Linked DNA regions of Homo sapiens: region 1 is linked to region 2. Evidence: promoter capture Hi-C in 16 types of primary human blood cells and fetal thymus (Javierre and others, 2016). All regions are on one chromosome and are shown on one strand. Each heading gives the region's core, a stretch centred on a gene start or on the middle of the fragment in contact. The rest is flanking DNA. Distances are from core to core; before and after follow the strand shown.

Region 1 (6,519 bases), core at 3,026-5,525, 380 kb after region 2:
CGAACTCCTGACCTCAGTGATCCGCCCACCTCAGCCTCCCAAAGTACTGGGGTTACAGGCGTCAGCCACTGCCCCAGCCTAAAATGGGAATTTAATAACATCTCTTTTAAAGGACAGCTATGAGACAAAAATGGGATAAGGTGTGTGAAGATGCTCTCCTTTTCTGCCCAGTGGGTTTCTGCCTTTCCTTTGGGGGATCGTAGAGGAGGTTTCCCTCACTGTCTCCAGCCAGACCAGGGACTGTAGATGGGGACTCCTGGGTCCACGTTGTCCCTGCGATGTCGTCGCCCACAGAGTGACCTGCGGTACCCACTGAAGAGGCCACTCTTCCCCTCCCACACTCACAGCATCTCACCCACCTTCCTCCAAAGTCACTATCAGGCCTGGACCTTGAGGATGGTTAACAAAGCTTTTAATCAAGGCAGAAGTTCTTCAGTGGGAGCACAAACTAGAATTCCCTAGAGGGCTTGGGAAACAAATCCAGCTCACTGGGCCCCACCCCGAGTTTCTGATTCAGCAGGTTTGAGGTGAGGCTTGAGGATGTGCCGTTCTAACAAGTTCCCAGGTGAGGCCAATGCTGCTGGCCCTGGGACCACACTTTGAGATCCAATGAGCTTAGTCAGTGCTGCTAATTCCATCCCCATTTGCCAGTGATTGACTGGGCCTAAGCCAGTGGACCAACGAGATGCAAGGCGGGGCTTACTCTGGGCTGATGAGGGTGAGCAGCTCCTCCTTCTCCCCAGAGGAGACAAAGGTGCCTGAGTGAGTGGTGGCAGCCACTTTGTGACCATGAGGGGAATCAGCCTTCACAGAAGCTGATGCTGTAGACTGAGAAAACCTAGACTCCTAATAACATATACCATCAAGCCCACCCAACTTTGGGATTTTTTTTTTTTTTTAATTCTGGGGAAACTTTTATTTTTATTTCTAGACCAATTGACTATGGGATAGGAAAGAAAGTGAGGTGTCAAGGATAAAGCCAATATTTGACTCAAACAATGTAGAGGATGTTTGTTTTTAGCTTACTTGAGGAAGGCTGTGGTCGGGGAGAAGATTGAGAATTCTTTTTTTTTTTTGAGACAGGGTCTCACTCTGTTGCCCAGGCTGGAGTGCAGTGGTGCCATCCTAGCTCACTGCAGCCTCGACCTCCCAAACTCAAACAATCCTCCCACTTCAGCCTCCTGAGTAGCCAGGATTATAGGCAGATGCCACCATGCCTGGCTAATTTTTTCATTTCCAGTAGAAATGAGATCTCACTATGTTGCCTGGGCTAGTCTCAAATTGGGCTCAAATGATCCTCCCACCTTAGCCTCCCAAAGTGCTGGGATTATAGGCGTGAGCCACTGCACCTGGCCAAAGATTAATTCTGATCAATGCTAAGGACTTTCCACTCTTTACAACTTTAACTTTGTTTTGGTTGTTTCAAGAGCTACATTTGATTCGATTCGTTTTGTTTTGAGATGGAGTCTCACTCTGTCGCCCAGGCTGGAGTGCAGCGGTGCAATCCCACTGCAACCTCTGACCCCCGAGTTCAAGGGATTCTCCTGCCTCAGCCTCCTGAGTAGCTGGGACTACAGGCACCCACCACCACGCCTGGCTAATTTTTGTATTTTTAGTAGAGATGGGGTTTCACCATGTTCGCCAGGCTGGTCTCAAACTCCTGAACTCAGGTGATCTGTCCACCTCGGCCTCCCAAAGTGCTAGGATTACAGGCATGTGCCACCGCACCTGGCCTAAGAGCTACATTTTTTATCGCAGTCTCAGCCTTTTCATTTCCCCATATCCCACTCATTCCTATAAGGGCCAAATGCAATAAAACAGATGTGTATGTGCACTCACGCTGTGGAGTGAAGATGCAAATGACTGTGATGATCCAAACCCTGGCAGGAAGGTGGCAGCCCCGTAGGGCATGGGGATCAGAGGTAACTCCACTGTGTGTGCCTTCCGCTGTGTGTGCCCTCCACTGTGTGTGCCCTCCGCTGTGTGTGCCCTCCACTGTGTGTGCCCTCCACTGTGTCTGTCCTCCGCTGTGTGTGCCCTCCACTGTGTGTGCCCTCTGCTCCGCTGTGTCCACAGTGACAGCATAGATTATCCCAGGGCTCAATCAGTTGTTCCAGCTAACTTCCTGCTAAACAGAGCTGGTCACCAGGAGCCAGGCTGACACCTTTGAACCCCTTCTTCCCCTCTGCCTCCTTTCTCAGAAAATATAAAGTGCAAAATGGTCCAGAGGTGGACAGTGTGGGGAGGGAGGGGACATTGAGTCTTGATGACCTGCAAATTTACACCAGTTTCTGCATAATCCTATATGGGCTTTATCTGATCTTAGAGGCACCCATCCCTTTGCAATAAAAGATTGCATCTGTTTTTATTTCCCCTTTCTGTTGGAAGCTGATAAGCCAAGAATGTACTCTCCCCACCTGCTCTCAGCTTTGATTCCCATTAACACAGGGGCATTCCCAGGAAAGGGTTGGGCTCCCCAAGGTGTTTGCTGGAGAACCTGCTGTCACTCTGCAGAGATGTACAAGTATTTACTGAAAGAAGAACTTCTCCAGGAATATTGTGTAAGCAGATTACACCGGATCTCCCTGCCCTTGGACAAATATATATGGTGAAGCTCAAAGAGGGGAATCCAATGCACAGAAACCTCCATGCTTAAAAAATATCTTGTGGCCGGGCACGGTGGCTCACGCCTGTAATGCCAGCACTTTGGGAGGCTGAGATGGGAGGATCACTTGAGCCCAGGAGTTCGAAACCAGCCTGGGCAACATAGGGAGACCCCCATCTCTACAAAAAATGAAAAAAGTTAGCCAGGCATGGTGGTGCACACCTGTAGTCCCAGCTACTAGGGAGGCTGAGGTGGGAGGATCACTTGAGCCTGGGAGTTTGAGGCTGCAGTGAGATATGATCATGTCACTGCACTCCTGCCCGGGCGACAGAGTGAGACTCTGTCTCAAAAAACAAACAAAAAACCAAACCAAAACAAAACAGAACTTGTGAATTGGTTTGGGGATTGCTGGTAAGAGACAAAGGGATGATCATCAAGTCTGGGGATGCCCATCCATTGCCACATCCCCAAGGGGATCACACCAGCTGGAGCACATCACTGCACGTCGCATTTTTGTTTTGTTTTGTTTTGAGACGGAGTCTCACTCTGTCTCCCAGGCTGGAGTGCAGTGGCGCCATCTCAGCTCATTGCAACCTCCACCTCCCGGGTTCAAGCAATTCTCCTGTCTCAGTCTCCCGAGTAGCTGGGATTACAGGCATGCGCCACCACACCCTGCTAAATTTTTTTGGAATTTTTAGTAGAGACAGAGTTTCACCATATTGGCCAGGCTGGTCTTGAACTCCTGGCCTCAGGTGATCCTCCCACCTCAGCCTCCCAACGTGCTGGGATTACAGGCGTGAGCACTGCACCCGGCCCTTTTTTTTTTTTTTGAGATGGAGTCTCACGCTGTTGCCCAGGCTGGAGTGCACTGGTGTGATCTCGGCTCACTGCAACCTCTGCCTCCTGGGTTCAAGTGATTCTCCTGCCTCAGCCTCCTGAGTAGCTAGGATTACAGGCACATGCCACCACGCCTGGCTACTTTTTGCATTTTGAGGCAGGGTTTCACCATGTTGGCCAGGCTGGTCTTGAACTCCTGACCTTAAGGCCCGCCTCAGCCTCCCAAAGTGCTGGGATTACAGGCGTGAGCCACCGCGCCCCGCCTTGCACATTGCATTTCTAGAGACTAGAGGCCTCAAATTAAGGTGTCGGTAAGGCTTGGCCCCCTCTCAAACTTGGGGGAGAGGGGAGATTCCACTCTTGCCCTTTCCAACGTCTCACGTCTCTGGTAATCCTTGGCAATCTTTGGCTTGCTGCTGCAGCACTCCACGGTGTACCTCTATTGTCCTAAGGTGTTCTCTGTGTGTGTGTCCAACTTTGGATTTTTGTTTTTATTAATTTTCTTTTCTTTTTTTCTTTTTTTTTTTTTTGACGAAGTTTCACTCTTGTTGCCCAGGCTGGAGTACAATGGCATGATCTCGGCTCACCACAACCTCCACCTCCCGGGTTCAAGCAATTCTCCTGCCTCAGCCTCCCAAGTAGCTGGGATTACAGGCATGTGCCATCATGCCCAGCTACTTTTTTTGTATTTTTAGCAGAGACAGGGTTTCTCCATGTTGATCAGGCTGTTCTTGAACTCCCGATCTCAGGTGATCCACCTGTCTCGGCCTCCCAAAGTGCTGGGCTTACAGGTGTGAGCCACCGGGCCCGCTGTTTTCATTAATTTTCATTTGAAGACATCCTGATACCTAGTCAAAGCCTCATGACTTTGGGGGCTGAGAGGACAGGGTGGTGGTGGATGTATAGTTGGCGGGGTGTGGTGGTGCACACCTGTAGTCCCAGCTACAGGAGGATTGCTTGAGCCCAGGAGGTCGAGGCTGCAGCAAGCCATGAGTGTGTCACTGTACTCCAGCCTGGGCGACAGAATGAAACCCTGTCTCTTAAAAAAAAAAAAAGAAAAAAAAAGGATGTACAGTAGGAGGATTATCTTTGCCTTCAGTTGCTGGGAGGTGATCTCTAGGCCCCTTAACGTCCTGTCTGATGGAAGTGTCTGTGTTTGCCTGGGGCCTTTGGCCACCAGATAGTCTAACAATGTGATCTGTAATGAAGGCTTTGGAACATCCTGTATCAGTTCCAACCTCCAGATGAGCTGGATACACAAGAGTTAGCTCAGGAGAGACTGGAGATGAAAGGTCAGCCACACTGGCAGTAAGGGATCAAGCCCCACTAAAAAACGCTGGACACTGGCTGGCAGTGGCTCATGCCTGTAATCCCAGCACTTCAGGAGGCTGAGGGGGGCGGGTCACCAGATGTCAGGAGTTTGAGATCAGCCTGGCCAACATGGTGAAACCCTGTCTCTACTAAAAATACAAAATCAGCTGGGCATGGTGCATGCCTGTAATCCCAGCTACTCGTACTCTGGAGGCTGAGGCGGGAGAATCGCTTGAACCCAGGAGGTGGAGGTTGCAGTGAACTGAGATCACGCAACAGCACTCCAGCCTGGGCGACGAGAGCGAGACTCCATCTCAGAAACAACAACAACAAAAACAAAACCCCCAAAAACGCTGGACACCAAAGCCTCAGGAGCTTCTCTGGTTAGCAGTATTCTCTGAGTGTCATCACGCATCATAGCTGGGGGGAGGTGACTGTCTGGAGAGAAGGTAACTAGGAGCTTTGCACTTGAACCCCTTCCGCACCTCACCCTCTATGTCCTTTCTTGTGGCTGGTTCTGATCTGTGTCTGTTTGCTATCATAAAAACTGTCGTTATGAGGCGGGGCACTTTCCTGAGTTCCATGAGTCATTCTAGTGAATTATTGAACCACAGGGGGTAGTGGGAACCCTCAATGCAGCCAAGCGGTCAGAAGTGAGGGTGGCCCAGGAATCCCCAGTTGCACCTGGCATTTGAAGTGAAGGCTGCCTTGTGGAGGGACTGTGTCCTTAGCCTTGAGCTTGACAAATTCATTGCAGTAGGTTCTGTCATCTGCCTCTTAGAGAATACCCTCATTTCAACTGGGCGCGGTGGCTCACGCCTGTAATCCCAGCACTTTGGGAGGCCGAGGCGGGCGGATCACGAGGTCAGGAGATCGAGACCATCCTGGCTAACACGGTGAAACCCCGTCTCTACTAAAAATGCAAAAAATTAGCTGGGCGTGGTGGCGGGCGCCTGTAGTCCCAGCTACTCAGGAGGCTGAGGCAGGAGAATGGCGTGAACCCGGGAGGTGGAGCTTGCAGTGAGCCGAGATCGCGCCACTGCACTCCAGCCTGGGCGATAGAGCGAGACTCCATCTCAGAAAAAAAAAAAAAAAAGAGAATACCCTCATTTCCTTGCAATTTGGGACAGGTGTTAGGAGCCTCATTTTATTCTTCTGAAATCAAATTATCCCTGATTCAGACTTCAGGTAAGGTGGCATTCAAATGCAGTCGTGACTCAGGGCTTACTATTTCTATTCTTCTAAAAAGACTATGGGATTCTCATGTAGGTGGAAATGCTTGAGTGGGCGCCTCTGGCCTTTGGTCTACACGCACTAGCCTGATACACGTCTCCTCCACCAGGCTGTAAACCTCGTGAAGTATCGGTTTTATTCCTGACTAGAACAAGGCTTAGCACCTAGTGGGTGCTCATTAAACACATGAAGCATGAATCAGTGAGGGATTTCACATCTCGTCATCTCTGAAAAGCCTGTTAGCTCACTTCTAGGACCAGGAAACTGGCATTATCAAGAGTGTTATTCCAGCTTTGGTTGGTTCTGAAAATAATAATAATGTATCAGTCCAGTATTAGGTTTAGCTGTATAGAACAGAAAACCCAAAGTGAAATGGCATAAACATGTAAGAGTTGATTCCTTCCAGAAGCAGGCAGTCTAGGACTGGTGTGGGCCTCCCCTGAAGGCTGGCAAGACCACTATTTCTGTGCCAACCTTTGGCGCAGGGGTCTTTATTCAGATTGGCTACTCCATACCCAGGATCCAGCCTCCCC
Region 2 (7,250 bases), core at 1,444-3,943:
AGGAGTTCAACAGCAGCCTGGCCAACATGGCAAAACCCCGTCTCTACTAAAAATACAAAAATTAGCCAGACGTGGTGGTGCACGTCTGTAATCCCAGTTACTTGGAAGGCTGAGGTGGGAGAATTGCTTGAACCCAGGAGGCGGAGGTTGCAGTGAGCCGATACTGGGCCACTACACTCCAGCCTGGGTGATAGACTGAGACTGTCTCAAAAAAAAAAGTTTAACTAGTACCACATAGGGAGTCAGTCTTCCCACCAAGGCTAGGGATAGAGAGAGAACAGAGACTTGGCCAAGCATGGACTCCATAAGCCCTTTCTGTAATATAAGTATGCTAAATGCCACGGAAACCAGATACATTTATTAAATCTACTCTTAGCCAAGCAATAAAGATGTCTACAGAGTTCACAACCTGCAACACTTCACCAGGGAATGCTAGGTAAAGGCAACTTCAGTTTAACTGAGTACTCCATTTCAAGTGGGTAATGTCTGCTGGTTGGCAGCTATCCAGTTTGGAAAACTGTGGAAGATGCTGTTGCTACCCAGATTGTTCTGTTCAACAAGTGGGCCTGAAGCCTGAGCAGTGTAGCCAGCTGTGTGGGGAGCAGAGGTTCACTCCATTGCTTCTGCAGCCTCCTCACCTGACTCCTCCTCCTCCTCTAATAAGCAGCTTCTTGTCACAGACTTCTGGATAGCTTCCCGCTCTCCTGGAGAAGGCAGATAACAGGGATGAAAGATATCTTTGGGAGTGATTTCTTCAGCTTAAGGTCAGTCACTGCTCAGTGGGCACTGGGCTAGTGTTGCTTACCTTCATCAGTGCAGTTCTGCAACAAGATCAACAGCTGTCTCCTGTTGTACTGAATTAGGAACTTCTGACATGTTCTTATTGTACCTGGCATATGAGTTACTGTGGTCAACAGCTTGTGAAAGATCTCGACCTTACAGACTTTCAGAGGTAGGGGGAAGTGTCTTGTTAGCGGGACAGCAGCAAGACCCACCCACCAGTTTAGACTGAACTGTGAACGTGTCACCAATTGAAAATCAGTAGCCATACCACCTCACTCCTACCTCCCACATGTAATGTGTTGAAAAAGCATGGGTAACGGTGTCCTTTGTTCTCCAAGTATGTGATGAAGGGAAGAGCTGACCACACAAGCTGATAGAATTCTTTTCTGCATCGAAGTAGCACTATTCCAGTATAGGCATTGAGATATCGAACTACAACAGGAAAGAAAAATCATTTTGGAAAACTTTTGCTCTGTGTGGTGGCTCACGCCTGTAATCCCAGCACTTTGGGAGGCTGAGGCGGGCAGATCACTTTAAGTCAGGAGTTCGAGGCCAGCCTGGCCAACATGATGAAACCCCGTCTCTACTAAAAATACAAAAATTAGCTGGGTGTGGTGGTGCGCACCTGTAATTCCAGCCACTCAGGAGGCTGAGGCATGAGAATCGCCTGAACCCAGGAGGCAGAGGCAGCAATGACCCCCGATCTCGCTGCTGCACTCCAGCAGCCTGGGCAACAGCCAGACTGTCTCGAAAAAAGGAAAACTTTGGAGTAACAGAGCCTACTATGTGCCAAAAGTATGTTGTAGGCAAGTGGCACGTAGATCTATCAGCGAGTAAAAGAGAAAAGCCAAAACACCCACTGTGTTGCACACCACTCAGAACTGGTGAATGAATTTAGAATTGAAAATGCTTTCTAATTCACTAGTTAATTCAATAAATAGGAGCAGGTAGGAGGCGATCCGTTTTAATTTAGGAAAAACCCCCACAAAACCCTTGCCTGAAAAACAGGCTGTTTTACTGCATTTGGGCTCCGTAATTATTGTAGCAGTCAGCTCTCAGTCTCACCTGACTTAGGAGAGTTAAGTCTATCTGCATTTAACTCTCCAGAAGTCAATCTCAAACAAGGTTAAAGTGGGAACTAATTTAAGTGGTGTGAAAGAAGGGCCCCTCTGTCCTAGCTCATCCTGTATTTACATATATTGACAATCATGTGTTCTGTACTTTACCAACTATTTAAGGGCTTTCCCGGAGTACTTTTGACAATTTTTTTCCATATGATGTTAATGTAATCGGTCATATAATAGCTCTTACTAGGAAGTATACACAGCTTCCCTCATTTAATTCTCTACCCTATCAAATTCAATCACAACCAATTACAGAAATTACCTGTCAAGCAGGTAAAAAGAGGCTTCTAGCTCAAAGCCCCACTGCCTTCGGGCCCCTCCTTTTAGCGCTCTGCTAATTTCGGACTCTCGCTTGGGGTCCCAGGCGCTTAAAGAGATACCTTACAAAAAACGGTGCACGGGCTTGGCCACTCGTGCCCCTTCTTTCTTCCTCCGGCGCCTGCCCCCTCCACATCCCGCCATCCTCCCGGGTTCCCCTCTTCCCCCAGCGCCCTTGCACCCGCGAAGCCGATGGAGCAGGCGGCTGCGCCGAAAGTTCCGTGCACCCTGGCGATCGTGTCCCGTACGAGGCTGCTCAGAACTCGGTCATCGAGGCTTAGGCGGCAGCGGGGGTCGTCAGACACCAGTTCGCAGAGCAGGTACCTGCGGCAGGCGAGAGGAAGGTGGACACTAGCGGGGCCGCGAGGACCCAGCAAGGCACTGGGAGGGTCTGGAAGGGAATGCTTACCTGTGCTTGAACCGCACCATGGCTGCCTCCGCGCTCTCCGGTCCGGCGTGCAAACCGGATGTGAATTCTGTCCGCTGCCAATGGGAAGCTTGCTTCCGCAGCCTTTCAGCCATTCAGAGAAGGAGACAGGATATTAGGGCGGAGCTAGAAAGTTGAGAGGCCGAAGTCTGTCAGCTCTCTCAAGCCCCGCCCAACTGCGTTTGTAAGCGCGCATGCGTCCTGCGGAGGGTCACTGACTAGTTTGAGGGCTGAACCCCGGGATGGAGCGCCTTGCAGCTGTAATGGATGGTTCTGTTGCACACTGAAGTTTACAATAGTGTGTAGGATGTAGCCGCTACCCTTGGGGCCCTGGGAACCTTGCACCACAGTTATGTATGCGAGTATATTCTCTCCCCAAGGTGAACGGTGGAGCTTTTGAGGGCAAGACCCTGCACCTCACAGCCCAGGCATTGACAAACGGGAAATCGGACTTTTATTTTCAGGTTTGAGCTCAGTTTAATTCTTCCATACAGCTAAATATGCTATTGCTGTTTGGGCCTTTCAGCAATCTTAGGGAGGCGAGTGTGCCGTCTCGTTTTTTGCTCGCAGAAACAATACGTGGTCATTGTATTTTCCATTTCCGTTTACCTTTTTTTTTTGACAGAAAAGCACAAAGAAGCAAATAAATTATAATCCCAGCACTGAGAGAGAATAACTGTTGTCGTGTAGTGTGTTTTCTTCTGTCATTTTCTCCCTGCGCCAGTGGTTCTCAAAGTGCCGTCTGGGGACCACTGAGATTTCCTAAATTCACTCGATTTGGGAGTCCCCGAAGTCAAAATTACTTTCATAATAATGCTAAGATGTTACTTGTCTTTTTCATTCTCTCTGAGTGAACAGTCAAGTTTTCCAGAGGCTGCTTGACGTGATGACGTCACTGCTCTAGGAATTGTGTATTGTTTTTTAAACGTTTCTCAACTTTAATGTCCATAGTAAATATAACCCACAAAACTAAAAGCTCTTGGGCACCCTCAGTAACGTGTGTAAAGGGGTCCTGAGACAGAGAAAACAGCTTGAGAACTATGCCCTCTGTTAAATTATGTTTTTTCTTTTATTTTTAAGTATTTTAAAAAAAATGTCTTATGGGGTATTACATAAAGTACATATTCTTAAGTGTATTCATCTCAATGAATTTTTACATATGGATAGACTTCTATAACCACCTCCAAGATTAAAATAAAGAGCATTTCCAGTATCCCAGAAGGTTCCCTGAGCCCTCTTCCAGTCAAATTGCTTACTGCTATCAGCCACTATTACCACTTCTACCCTGCTAGATTAATTTTGCCTGTTCTTAAACTTTATATAAATGCAGCCAGGAGGCTGGCTGCAACCTCTGCCTCCTGAGTTCAAGCGATTCTCCTGCCTCAGCCTCCCGAGTAGCTGGGATTACAGGCACCTGCCACCACGACCAGCTAATTTTTGTATTTATTTATTTAGTTTTTTGAGACGGAGTCTCACTCTGTTGCCCAAGCTGGAGCACGATCTCAGCTCACTGCAACCTCTGCCTCCTGGATTCAGGCGATTCTCCTGCCTCAGCCTCCCAAGTAGCTGGGACTACAGGTGTGTGCCACCACAACTGGCTAATTTTTGTATTTTTAGTAGGGACAGGGTTTCCCCATGTTGGCCAGGCTGGTCTTGAACTCCTGACCTCAGGTGATCCACCCACCTCGGCCTCCCAAAGTGCTGGGATTACAGGCGTGAGCTACCACGCCTGGCCATTTGGCTATATTTTCATGTCAGCTCTTCAGCGACAATACTGTTTTTTAGCTGTGCAGTATTGCATTGTTTGGACGTACCATTGTGAAGTTGGTCAGTATCCCTTTGGTAGACGTTTACATTATTTCTAGATTTTCTTGTTATACCCAATACTTTGATGCATGGCTTTGTAGCTTAGTCTTTATGCCCATCCCTGATTATTTGTAGAAGTGTCTTGGCCTTGGCTGGTCCTGTGAGGTCCGTAATGGGGGCAGCTTTCACAACCTATTTTTGCAAGATCTGGAATGAGTTCTGAATTTTCCCATCTCCCACTCTTCTTGGCCACCTTAAAGGAGGGATGTGGGGGAAGGTAGGGAAGAAAAGAATAGGAAGAGGGAACGCCGTGGCCCTGCCAAGGGACCAGTGACAGTGACGGCACTCCCCACCCAAGAACAACTTTTCACCAGAAAGTGTCTGCGACATCCTCCTTTGGCCAACAGGGGGCGCCAGAGGTCCGCAGTGCGCGGAGAGAGCAAGACACCCCCAACTCCTGAGCGCTCCACCCCTCATAGAAATTTCACTCCTCCCAGCCTTCATTTCAACAGCAATGCTTCGCCCATTTTATAGATGCAGTTGGGGCTCAGACCAAAGCCTCGTATCCAGTTAGGAGCAGGATCAGAATTCGAACCCAAAGCCAGCTGACTCCTTGTTCTGGTCAACACGGTTGGTGCTCTCCCGTGCAGGATTTCACTCGTCCATTTAGTGTAATAAGATGGAGAGACGACAGATGGAGGTTCGATTCGCTACTCCGTCATTTACTGGCCCGGCCAGGTGCTGTCAGGAGGGTTAATTCATGTCTCAGATCTTAGTTTCCTCATCTGTGCAATGGGATAACAATGGTTCCTCCCTCGTGGGTGGATATGAAGTTTAAGCGGGGTCATGTGGACAAAATGCCTGGCACAGCGAGTGCATAGTAAGCCCTTTTTTTGTTTTTGTTTTTTTTGTTTTGTTTGTTTTTTGAGACTGATTTTTAAGACTGTCTTAAAAACAAGAAAAGAAAAAAGAAAATATAGCCAAACAACAGGAATTTTTTGAGACAGTTTTTTGCTCTGTCGCCCAGGCTGGAGTGCAGTGACGCCATGTCGGCTCACTGCAGCCTCTGCCTCCCGGGTTCAAGCAATTCTCCTGCCTCAGCCTCCAGAGTAGCTGGGATTAAGGCGCCTGCCACGACGCCCGGCTAATTTTGTATTTTTAGTAGAGATTTCACCATGTTGGACAGGCTGGTCTCAAACTCCTGACTTCAAGTGATCCGCCCGCCTCGGCCTCCCAAAGTGTTGGGATTACAGGCGTGTGCCACCGCCCTCGGCAAGTAAACGCTGTTCTGAACAAATGATTTACTTTTCCCCCACAGGCACAGCCCCGGGAGGAAGCACATTGGCACGGCCCGCGGCCTCCCAGTCTTGGACCAGGCCCGGCCCCTTCTGGCCCAGGAGGGTGCAGACGCCGGCGGTGGCCGGGCGGGCGGGCTCCCCGCGGTAATTAGCGCGCGCCGGCTCGGGCTGCGCCAGCCGCTAATTATAAGTCTCCTAATGAGGCCGGCGGCTGTTTGCAATCACCCGGGTCCCCGCTGCGCGGCGCGGGAGGCTGCGGGGGAATCCGCCCGCGGAGGCATGGAGGAGGAGCGGCCGTCTTCCCCGGGGCCCGGAGATCCGCTGGACGGCGACGGGGTGTGCCCCGGCCGTGCCCGCCGCCGGAATGCCGGCCGCGAAGGGGCAGCGGCGGGGGCTCACACCCCAACCCCTCCTCGGTTCTCTCCCCAGCCGGGCCGCAGAGCCATTATCCTCCCCAGGTGAGGAAGCCGATGAGGCTCTGAGAGGTGAGCTCACCCAGGTGCGACATCACAACTCACCCAGGTGCACAATAGAGCCCAATCCACGTCTGTCTGACCCCAGCCTGTGCCCTTAGCCGAGTCAGGTATCCCCTGGATCAATGGGGTGGTCACTGTTGTCATTACTGTTAGCATTATTACAGTCGTCCTGGGACTTCTCAGATTCCTTTTTTTTTTTTTTTTTTTTTTTTTGAGATGGAGTCTCCCTCTGCCGCCTAGGCTGGAGTGCAGTGGCGCGATCTCAGCTCACTGCAACCTCTGCCTCCCGGGTTCAAGCGATTCTTCTGGCTCAGCCTCCCCAGTAGCTGGGACTACGGGCACGTGCCACCTCGCCTGGCTAATTTTTTATATTTTTAGTAGAGACAGGGTTTTACCGTGTTAGCCAGGATGCTCTCCATCTCCTGACCTCGTGATCCACCCACCTTGGCCTCCCAAAGTGCTAGGATTACAGGCGTGAGCCACCGCGACCGGCCTTTTTTTTTTTTTTTTCTGAGACAGGATCTCACTCTGTCCCACAGGCTTGAGGGCAGTAGCTCCATCTTGGCTCACCGCAACCTCTGCCTCCTAGGTTCAAGCGATTCTCCTGCCTCAGCCTCCTGAGTAGCTGGGACTACAGGTGCCCACCACTATACCTGGCTATTTTTTGTATTTTTAGCAGAGATGGGGTTTTGCCATGTTGGCCGGGCTGGTCTCGAACTCCTGGCCTCATGTGATCTGCCTGTCTGGGCCTCCCAAAGTGCTGGGATTACAGGTGTGAGCCACCGTGTCCAGCCGGGATCACTGTCTTTATTCTTCATCCGTGTCTCCTGGGTGATCATTAATTGGGCTCTCCCAGTGTGCTGGCCACTGTCTTTTCTGGGTTTGATTGATTGAGTCCTCACATCAGCCTCATGAAGTTAGGACCCATTATCCTCTGAGACACAGGGAGGAAAATGGCTTGCCCAAGTTGACACAGTAAATTTGGGTGGACATCTGTCTTACCCTAAAACCTGTGCTC

Evidence for each region. Contacts are between HindIII fragments. The CHiCAGO score rates a contact against its expected background, and 5 or more counts as called.
Region 1: a contact is called between a fragment that was not itself captured here and the fragment with the promoter of POP5 in region 2, in 6 of 17 cell types (M0 macrophages, M2 macrophages, total B cells and 3 more). The highest score is 7.8, in M0 macrophages.

The regions. Positions count from the first base shown.
Region 1 is chr12:120,954,737-120,961,255 of GRCh38, forward strand. No RefSeq gene overlaps it. Among named protein-coding and RNA genes, the nearest start is that of HNF1A-AS1, 14 kb to the right of the region's middle. The HindIII fragment of the contact is 7,737 bases long and covers 408-6,519 here.
Region 2 is chr12:120,578,709-120,585,958 of GRCh38, forward strand. POP5 (POP5 ribonuclease P/MRP subunit) reads right to left here and starts at 2,694. Exons shown (of 5, transcript NM_015918.4): 1 at 2,635-2,694; 2 at 2,407-2,549; 3 at 1,066-1,215; 4 at 806-889; 5 at 56-704. The coding sequence starts at 2,654. The coding sequence ends at 610. RefSeq lists silencers at 5,757-6,126, 6,157-6,226. The HindIII fragment of the contact is 2,825 bases long and covers 1-2,720 here.